Regions from separate parts of the Homo sapiens genome. Here region 1 is linked to region 2. The links are contacts of gene promoters, found by promoter capture Hi-C in human tissues and cell types (Jung and others, 2019). All regions are on one chromosome and are shown on one strand. Each heading gives the region's core, a stretch centred on a gene start or on the middle of the fragment in contact. The rest is flanking DNA. Distances are from core to core; before and after follow the strand shown.

Region 1 (3,934 bases), core at 1,089-3,588, 420 kb before region 2:
AACCCACAAAATTGAAAAGCCAGTCTGAATGTCAAGTGGTAACAAGAAAAGGTGAAGAAAAGTCTAATAGCGAAACTCAACTAAACAGGCAGGTTGACAAGACAAGGTATCTTTGATTCTCTCCTAGGTATTTTCCTTCTACCATCTTCTCCCACAGACTTCTTCTACCTTTGGACAGATGCAAACTCGCATTTGCAACTATACACATATATACTATAGATACTTTATGGGTTGAAATATATGCCCTCAAAATTTATATGTTGAAGTCATAATCCCCCAGAACCTTAGAATGTGAATGTATTTGGAAATAAGATCTTGCAGATATAATTATTAATAGTTAAGTTACGGCTGGGCGTGGTGGCTCACGCCTGTAATCTCAGCACTTTGGGAGGCCAAGTTGGGCAGATCACCTGAGGTCAGGTGTTCGAGACCAGCCTGACCAACATGGAGAAACCCCGTCTCTGCTAAAAATACAAAAAATTAGCTGGGCGTGGTGGCAGGCACCTGTAATCCCAGCTACTCAGGAGGCTGAGGCAGGAGAATTGCTTGAACCCTAGAGCTGGAGGTTGCAGTGAGCCAAGATCGTGCCATTGCACTCCAGCCTGAGCAACAAGAGTGAAACTCCATCTCAAAAAAAAAAAATTATTAAGTTAGGATGAGATCATGCCGCAGTAGGGTGGGCCCTAGTTCAATACATCCTTATAAGAACAGGCCATATAGGCACAGACATGCACAGGGAAAACCATGTGAAGATGAGGGCAGAGCTCAGGGTGATGCTTCTCCACACCAAAGATTGCCAGCAAACCACCAGAAGCTACAGGAGCTGTGGAACAGCTTCTTTCCCAAGGCCTCAGAAGGAACTGACCCTGATGACACCTTGACCTCTGACCTCTAACCTCCCCAACTGTGACACAATACATTTTGGTTGTGTAAGCCACTCAGTTTGTGCTACCTTATTATGGAAGCCTTAGCAAACTGCTTATTTTATGTCTAGTTTGTGTTTATTTTATGTCTGTAGGTCAAGACGAGACTTCTCCCTCATCTCTCCTACCTAGCACGTCAGCTCCCAAGCTGATCACAGCCATGCTCTCAACAGAGACTTGAAGCTGCTGTTTGCCATACCCCAAATCACTGACCTAGATGGAAAGTGCCTGCTCTGAATAGACTGATCACAACCAACCAAGTTAGATATGAGGCCACCCTGCCCGACTCATTCCTGAGTTGAGTTCTTCAGTAGCTACATTTGCTGAGAACCCAATATGCCTCCCATTCACTGCAGCACAAATACGACAGAAAACTCAGATTAGAAGAGTGGGAGAAAGGGTTTATATTTCTCCTCAGTATCCAAGGGAGTACTGAAATCAGAAAAATGAATATATTATGTACTTATCTAACTGGAATCTTTGATAAATAAACACAGAAATTTGTTTCACTGCTAAAAATTAGACATAAAAAGAGAATCTTACCATGAGCCCGATTTGTTAAGTGCAACATTAGTCAGTGGCAATATATGTGCTTTGAGAACCTTCAGTGAAAGAAAACACCATTTTTTAGACTCAAACCAAATTAAATTTGTTAGTTATAACTTCAAACCAATGAAGACATTCAATTTTTTCTTAATTATACATCAGAAACAGGCAATATCTGATTTACCTTTAGACAGTGCTATGTGGCATCTTATTGATAGCACTAATTTGTAACATTTTCTTTTACATATGGCATGTGGTTTTGTATACATGTATAAACTGGGTATGTAGGAAATACACTAAATATGTTTCAATAAAGATTTGACAATGTATTATGACTTTATGAATCCTGAAGCTCCTTTAGTGTCAGAATATGTCTTCCTTATCTTTCAATCCCTACAACATCTAACATACAGTGAATGTTTAATGAATATTTATTGAATGCATATACATAAATTGGACAATCTATTAAGAGTGATTGGCTGGGCTGGGACAGTCCAAGTTATGTCTGTTACCAAAATGTAACTATGAATAGCATCTACTTTCACCATCAAAAATGTTCCCTTTGGAGAATAAATTGAGACACGCTAGTTATACAGCTCATATTTGAAATTAAACAGTGCCACCTACTGGACAAAGAAATGTTACAAGACTATAACATCCTCTTCCAGAAACGAATGCCTGGATATTTTGTATCAGGTGAGTCTATAACTAATAATTATATGTTACTATCATAATTATATTTAAATCATAAAAGATAAAAGCAGTGTAATATGAAGTAATTCTAAGGTAATGACAAAGGAAAATTAAAAGCTTTCCTTGAAGTACTAAACGACTATATTTGCTATATTTAATCATCAAAAAAACTATTTAAAAAGCATATTTACATCACATTAAAATTATATGTCATACAAATAAATAATTTACTGAAATATGGTTTAGTTCACATGAAAGCAGAAAATACGAAATGTTGATTTGTCATAAAACACAACTTCTTAACGTTACTTTAACTAGAAAAAAAGCTTTAGTTATTCCATAACTTAAAACTATCTTAATAATAATAACCCTTTAAATTTATCATTATATGAAGAGCTGAAATCTTTATTTAACCTCTCAAGGAATAAGTGTTTTGGATTTCACTCATTCATTTAACAAATAATTATTGGGACAATCTTAGCAAACATATGTGAGGCACTACAATCAATCACTGACATGCCTTTTTCATGAAAAAATATTTTTAGGGAAAGAAAAATTAATAAAATATCAATCATTTCACTGAAATTCTTCTATCTGATTGTTTTTAAATCCATTACCTTAAAAAGATAGAACGTGTGATTGCTGTTCTGGCCGAGTTTCTCTTGCAACCTCTGTATCAAAAGTTTGACTTGCTCTGTTCGTGAAGCTGTGAGTAGAGGTTCTGCCTTCTGGATTTCTTCTACTAACGCACTGACATCAGTGCTGAAATACACCCAAAAAAGAGTTTCTTTTATTTTATGTCAAAATTTGCATATACCTATATTACATGAAGAATTGATTGTATTGCTTCATGAAGCACATTTATAAAATGTCAAAAACACCATTATCTTTCCCAAGAGATATCTGGGGGTGGGGCGGGGAGGATCATACAAATCAGTAAATAGATGATGGCAGGAAAGCAAGAAGCTTGGATTTTCTACAACATATTTTTCCAAAGCTAAGGCTTGTTTCATGGAGGGTGTGCCAAGAGTCTAATGTTCTCACCTAGTGTTGTGGTTTGAATGTTTGCGTCCGCTCTAAAATTCATGCTGAAACATGTTCACCAATGTCACAGCATTAAGAGGTGCGGCCTGAATAGGTAATTAAGTCACAATGGTGGAGCCCTTCTGAATGGGATTAGAAGCCCTGATAACAAGGCTTGACAAAGAGAGTTCATCCCTTTTGCCCTTCTGCCCTCTGCCATGTGAAGACGCAGCATCAAGGTGCCATCCTGGAAGCAGAGTGCAGCCCTCATCAGATGCCAAACTTGTAGGGGCCTTGATCTTGGATTTCTCAGTCAGAACTACGAGAAACAAATAACCCTGTTTCAGGTCTTTCTTTTTATGGCAGCACAAAATGAATGAAGACACCTAGGAAGGCCTAGTCCATACTAGTTCTGAACATGAGCTCTTTTTCTTTCTTTCCTGTTTCTTTTGAATGAACATGTATTGAATGTTCCCAGCAGCATACTTTTCACTTTACATATGTTCTCTTATTTAATCCTGTAACAATCTGCTAATGTAATGCTTTTATCATAATTATTTTAGAGATGAAGAAACTGAGGTTCAGAAAGATTAGATTTAAAATATTTTTAGGAAAAGAGAAAAATGCCTAACCATAAATTTAAAGCATCATAAGACTAATATTAATATTTATTATAGACTAAAATATTGTTTCCCTGAAAGATAACTGGTCTGAAAAATATACAGATAGATTCAAATTTTCTCTAGCAT
Region 2 (4,201 bases), core at 165-2,664:
TTTATCAAAATAAAGCTTAATGAAGCAAAGAACAACAAACACAAATCATCCCAGTAACTCAGGACGGTAGTGTCTTTCTGAAATCATGGTGACTTGCTAGCTCTCCTCATTTCTGTGTACAGCCAGGGCACTCGGGTATTGATAGCGAGATACAGATAAATCTCACAGATAACTCCATCATATTTAGAATCACACAGCTCCTAGTGGGTACCTTATTGCCATTAAAACTTTCCCCCAACTCCTCAACACTCTCTTCGGACCATAAAACTAAAATCCCACAGCTTCAAATCTGCTCCTCTGCCTCCCCCTCCCGCAATTAATCCTTTCGAACTTTTCCCAGGGGATTCACATCTGCCATCAAGATGCTTTCATCCTGCTACTATTCCTAAGTGCCTGCTTCCTCCCAGTTACGTAGGTACTCTCGACCCAGAAAAAAGGCACGGGCGAGGCAGGCGTCCCTCCCTCCCACCCCAGCTTCTCCCCGACCCCCAGCAGGAGCGCCCAGCAGGTGCCTCGCTCCGCACCGCGGCTCCCGGGCCGCTGAGAGGCGGGGCACACAAAGGACCCGCATGGACCTCCCCCCCGGCCTCCTAGCGTCTTCCCCCACCCCCCACAGCCCGGCGCCCCGGGTAGCTGGAGAGCGAGGGCGGCGGCCGCAGGCTCGACGGAGACCAGGGACGCTCGCCCCGGTCGCCCCCTCCCTGACCCCAACCCCGCCCACGTCCCACCCACGAAGGCTGCCCAGAACGTAAACCCTCGCCCGGCAAAACCGAAAACGCATCCCCAGCCCGGCTGCCCGGGCCCTGCGCATCCAGCCCGCAGCCTCCCACGCCGCGCCCGCCAGCCGGCGCCCAACGGCCGCCCCCGACCGCCTCCCACGGCACCCGGCTCTTTCCCAGCCCCGGAAGGGTCCCGGTCCCGCCGCCCGCTCCCCCACCTCCCGGGAAGGGCCCGACACCCGCCCGGCCGCCCCGCACTCACAGGCTGCCGGAGCAGGAGGTACACACGAAGGAGCCGACCGTCATGTTAACGTAGGTGGGGCCGCGCTGGTCGCAGTCGAAGCACTTTCGGTTGTGCGGGAGGCCGGTCATGTCCCGCAGCATCTTCAGGTGCTTCTCCTCCTGCTTCCGCTTCGCGCTGGCCGCCATGGCCGCGGCGCCAAGGGAGGAGGCCGGCAGGGCCGGGAGCCGGGCAGCGCTGCGCCGGGGGCCCGCGGTCCCACGGGCCGCCCTGGCCGCGGCCGCCGCCCTCCGTCTGCGCGCGCCGCCCGCGCCGGACCCGGCCGCAGCGGCTTGGCTGTACTGGGCTCGACGCGGCCCGGGCGCTGTGGTACGCGGGCTGACGGGCCACACCAACCGGCACAGCCGGGACAACCGCCGCCGCCGCCGCCACCTTCCCGACTTCTCCTGAGGGGAAAAGACGAGGAAGGGGACGGCAAGAGGAGGCCCGCCCTGGGCGGCCGGTAGCCAAGTGTCCGCTGGCGCCCTCTGCTGGCCAGGAGGAGTCACTGCGGCCTCGCTGAGGCATGGGCCGGGTCTGGAGCCAAGTAGGGTAGACACAATGGTGATAATAATATTAATAATAGACAGTATTTATTGAGCGCTTATATATGCAAAGCGTTTCACATGGGTTACCTTCCCCTTCTGTTTAAAACTCTTCAAGGGCTTTCCACTGCTTTGAGTATAATTCCAAATTCCTCACCGTGCCGTAAAAAGTGCTCCATAGTCTAGCCCAGTCTACCTCATTCTTCGTCGTCCTCACTCAGCCACACTGGATTTTGAGTTTTCTGAACACAGCAAGCTCCTTTCTGACTCCTGCAGGACCTTTGCCCTTGCTCTTCTCTCTTTATCTTTGGGCCAGCTAATTTGGGGGGGCTTGGGGTGTCCTGTGCACTGTAGGATACTGGGCGGCGTTCCTAGCCTATACCCACTAGATACAAGAACAAACCCCCCAATTCCCATTGCTGGCAACCAAAAATCCCCAGACATTGCCAAAAGTGGAGGGAACTTTAGGGCGGTGCAGTCACCTGGCTTGAGAACTGCTGCGTGTGGAAACCCGGATCATCCATAGCTGACATCCTCTAAGTCAGGTGGGGCTCAGATGTCACCTCCCCCGCCAGACTGTCCCAGATCAGCCGAGTTAATGTTGCAGCTCACCTTTCTCGAAGTTGCTCTCCATCAAATTGCTGCGTTGTATTTTCGTCTCAGTTCTAGCTATTTGAAATACTGCATCTTATTTCGTGTTTACCATGGGTGATCTGGACTCTCCCTTTAGGCGCTAAACAGCCTGGCCCCCGTATTTTCTGTGCCACTCCACCCCATTCCCCTCGCAGAGCTGGAGACTAGGTGTTCAATGTTGACGGAATGAATACATGAAATCGTTCATGTAATCTTCACAACAACCCTTCGAGGTGAGCGTTATTGTTATTTACATTTTACAAAACAGGAAGATGAAACCCTGAGGGATTAAGTAAATTTACCCAAGGGTACCTATGGCGAAGCTCAATTCCAACCCAGACAGCCAGACTGCAGGACCCAAATCCCCACTGCAACAATCAACTTCGTCTCTCGTTTTCCAAAGGAGTACAGGGAGACCCAGAGAGCTGAAGTTCTCAAATCACTGGGCTGTTGAATGGATTAGAATCTACGTTTCCTAACAGCCAAGACCAACCTCCACATCTCTCATGAAAGGGATTGGGTGAATCAACAAAGTGAGACTTCATATTAATATAATACTACTAATAATAATTAATGTTTTTAATATTAAAAGAAATGGACAGATAGATTGGCCAATGAATGTTTTTAAACTTTTCTATTATGGAAAATATCAAACTACCATGAGCCCATGGACCACTTTCAGCAATGATTAAGCCCATGGCTAATCTTGCTTTATAAATACCTCAACCCTCCATCCCCTCTCCTATTATTTTAAAGCAAATTCTAGGTTTCGTACCATTCATCTAAATGGTACATAGTTCCATTTGTATCCCTAAAAAATAAAAACTTTATCTCTTTCAAACTTAGCCATGATACCGTTAGCATATCTAAAAAGTTAACAATAGGCTGGGCACGATGGCGCACACCTGTAATCCCAGCACTGTGGGAGGCCAAGGCAGGTGGATTACCTGAGGTCAGGAGTTCAGGACCAGCCTGGCCTACATGGCGAAACCGGGTCTCTACTAAAAATATGAAAATTAGCCAGGCATGGTGGCATGCACTTGTAGTCCCAGCTACTTGGGAAGCTGAGGCAGGAGAATCACTTGAACCTGGGAGGCAGAGGTGGCAGTGAGCCAAGATTGTGCCACTGCACTCCAACCTGGGCAATAGAGCAAGACTCCGCCTCAAAAAAAAAAAAGTTAATAACTCCTAAAGATCATCAAATATCGCACTAGTGTTTAAGTTGGCAATTATCAATATTTTAATGAGATTTTTACAGTTTGTTTGAACCCACTCCTTGCAACTGGGTAATATGTCTCATAAGGTTTCTTTGGGTCTCTCCACCATCTCTTTTTTTTTAATTATAATTCATTTGTTTTAGTAATTGGGCACTTTATTCTGTAGAGTTTCTCATAATCTGTATCATTTAACATGTCCCTCTGTTCTATTTCCTAAAAATTGGTAGTTAGATCTAGTTCACTAGTATCCAGTTCAGTATTTTTGCGGGGCAGGCATTCATTTCATTGTGTTCTTCCATCAAGAGGGACATAATTGAGGAGAGGATATCTTTTTCATGATGTTGGTAACCATTGATGATTAATGTCTAGATTCATTAATTCATTAATGATTAGAAAATACTGATATTCTAATTCTGCCATTCTGGCTGGGTGCGGTGACTCACGCCTGTAATCCCAGCAACTTTGGGAGGCTGGGGCAGGAGGATCATCTAAGGTCAGGAGTTCGAGACCAGCCTGGCCAACATGGCGAAACCCCGTCTCTACTAAAAATACAAAAATTAGCTGAGCATGGTGGCAGGCACCTGTAATCCCAGCTACTCGGGAGGCTGGGGCAGGAGAATTGCTTGAACCCAGGAGGTGGAGGTTGCAGTGAGCTGAGATCCCACCACTGCACTCCAGCCTGGGTGACAGAATGAGACTCTGTCTCAAAAAAATAAAAAATAAAAATAAATAAATAAATAAAACTAATTCTACCATTCCTTCATTTATCAGCTCAAATTTTCTATAAAGAAAAAATTTCCCCTCATC

What was found. The method cuts DNA at HindIII sites, captures the fragments that hold promoters and counts their contacts. A contact is called where the count stands out against the background at its distance.
Region 1: a contact is called between a fragment that was not itself captured here and the fragment with the promoter of AGFG1 in region 2, in 1 of the 25 tissues and cell types used here (ovary).

Annotation. Positions count from the first base shown.
Region 1 is chr2:227,888,846-227,892,779 of GRCh38, reverse strand. It overlaps DAW1 (dynein assembly factor with WD repeats 1), which reads right to left. Exons shown (of 13, transcript NM_178821.3): 3 at 2,780-2,924; 4 at 1,467-1,525. Among named protein-coding and RNA genes, the nearest start is that of DAW1, 19 kb to the right of the region's middle. The HindIII fragment of the contact is 3,680 bases long and covers 499-3,934 here.
Region 2 is chr2:227,469,369-227,473,569 of GRCh38, reverse strand. It overlaps AGFG1 (ArfGAP with FG repeats 1), which reads right to left and starts at 1,414. Exons shown (of 13, transcript NM_004504.5): 1 at 982-1,414. The coding sequence starts at 1,148. It overlaps MIR5703 (microRNA 5703), which reads right to left and starts at 1,438; the gene lies at 1,383-1,438. It overlaps LOC124907994 (a long non-coding RNA gene), which reads left to right and starts at 1,471. Exons shown (of 2, transcript XR_007088114.1): 1 at 1,471-2,410; 2 at 2,581-2,782. RefSeq lists a silencer at 706-1,425 and an enhancer at 1,538-2,501. The HindIII fragment of the contact is 8,030 bases long and covers 1-4,201 here.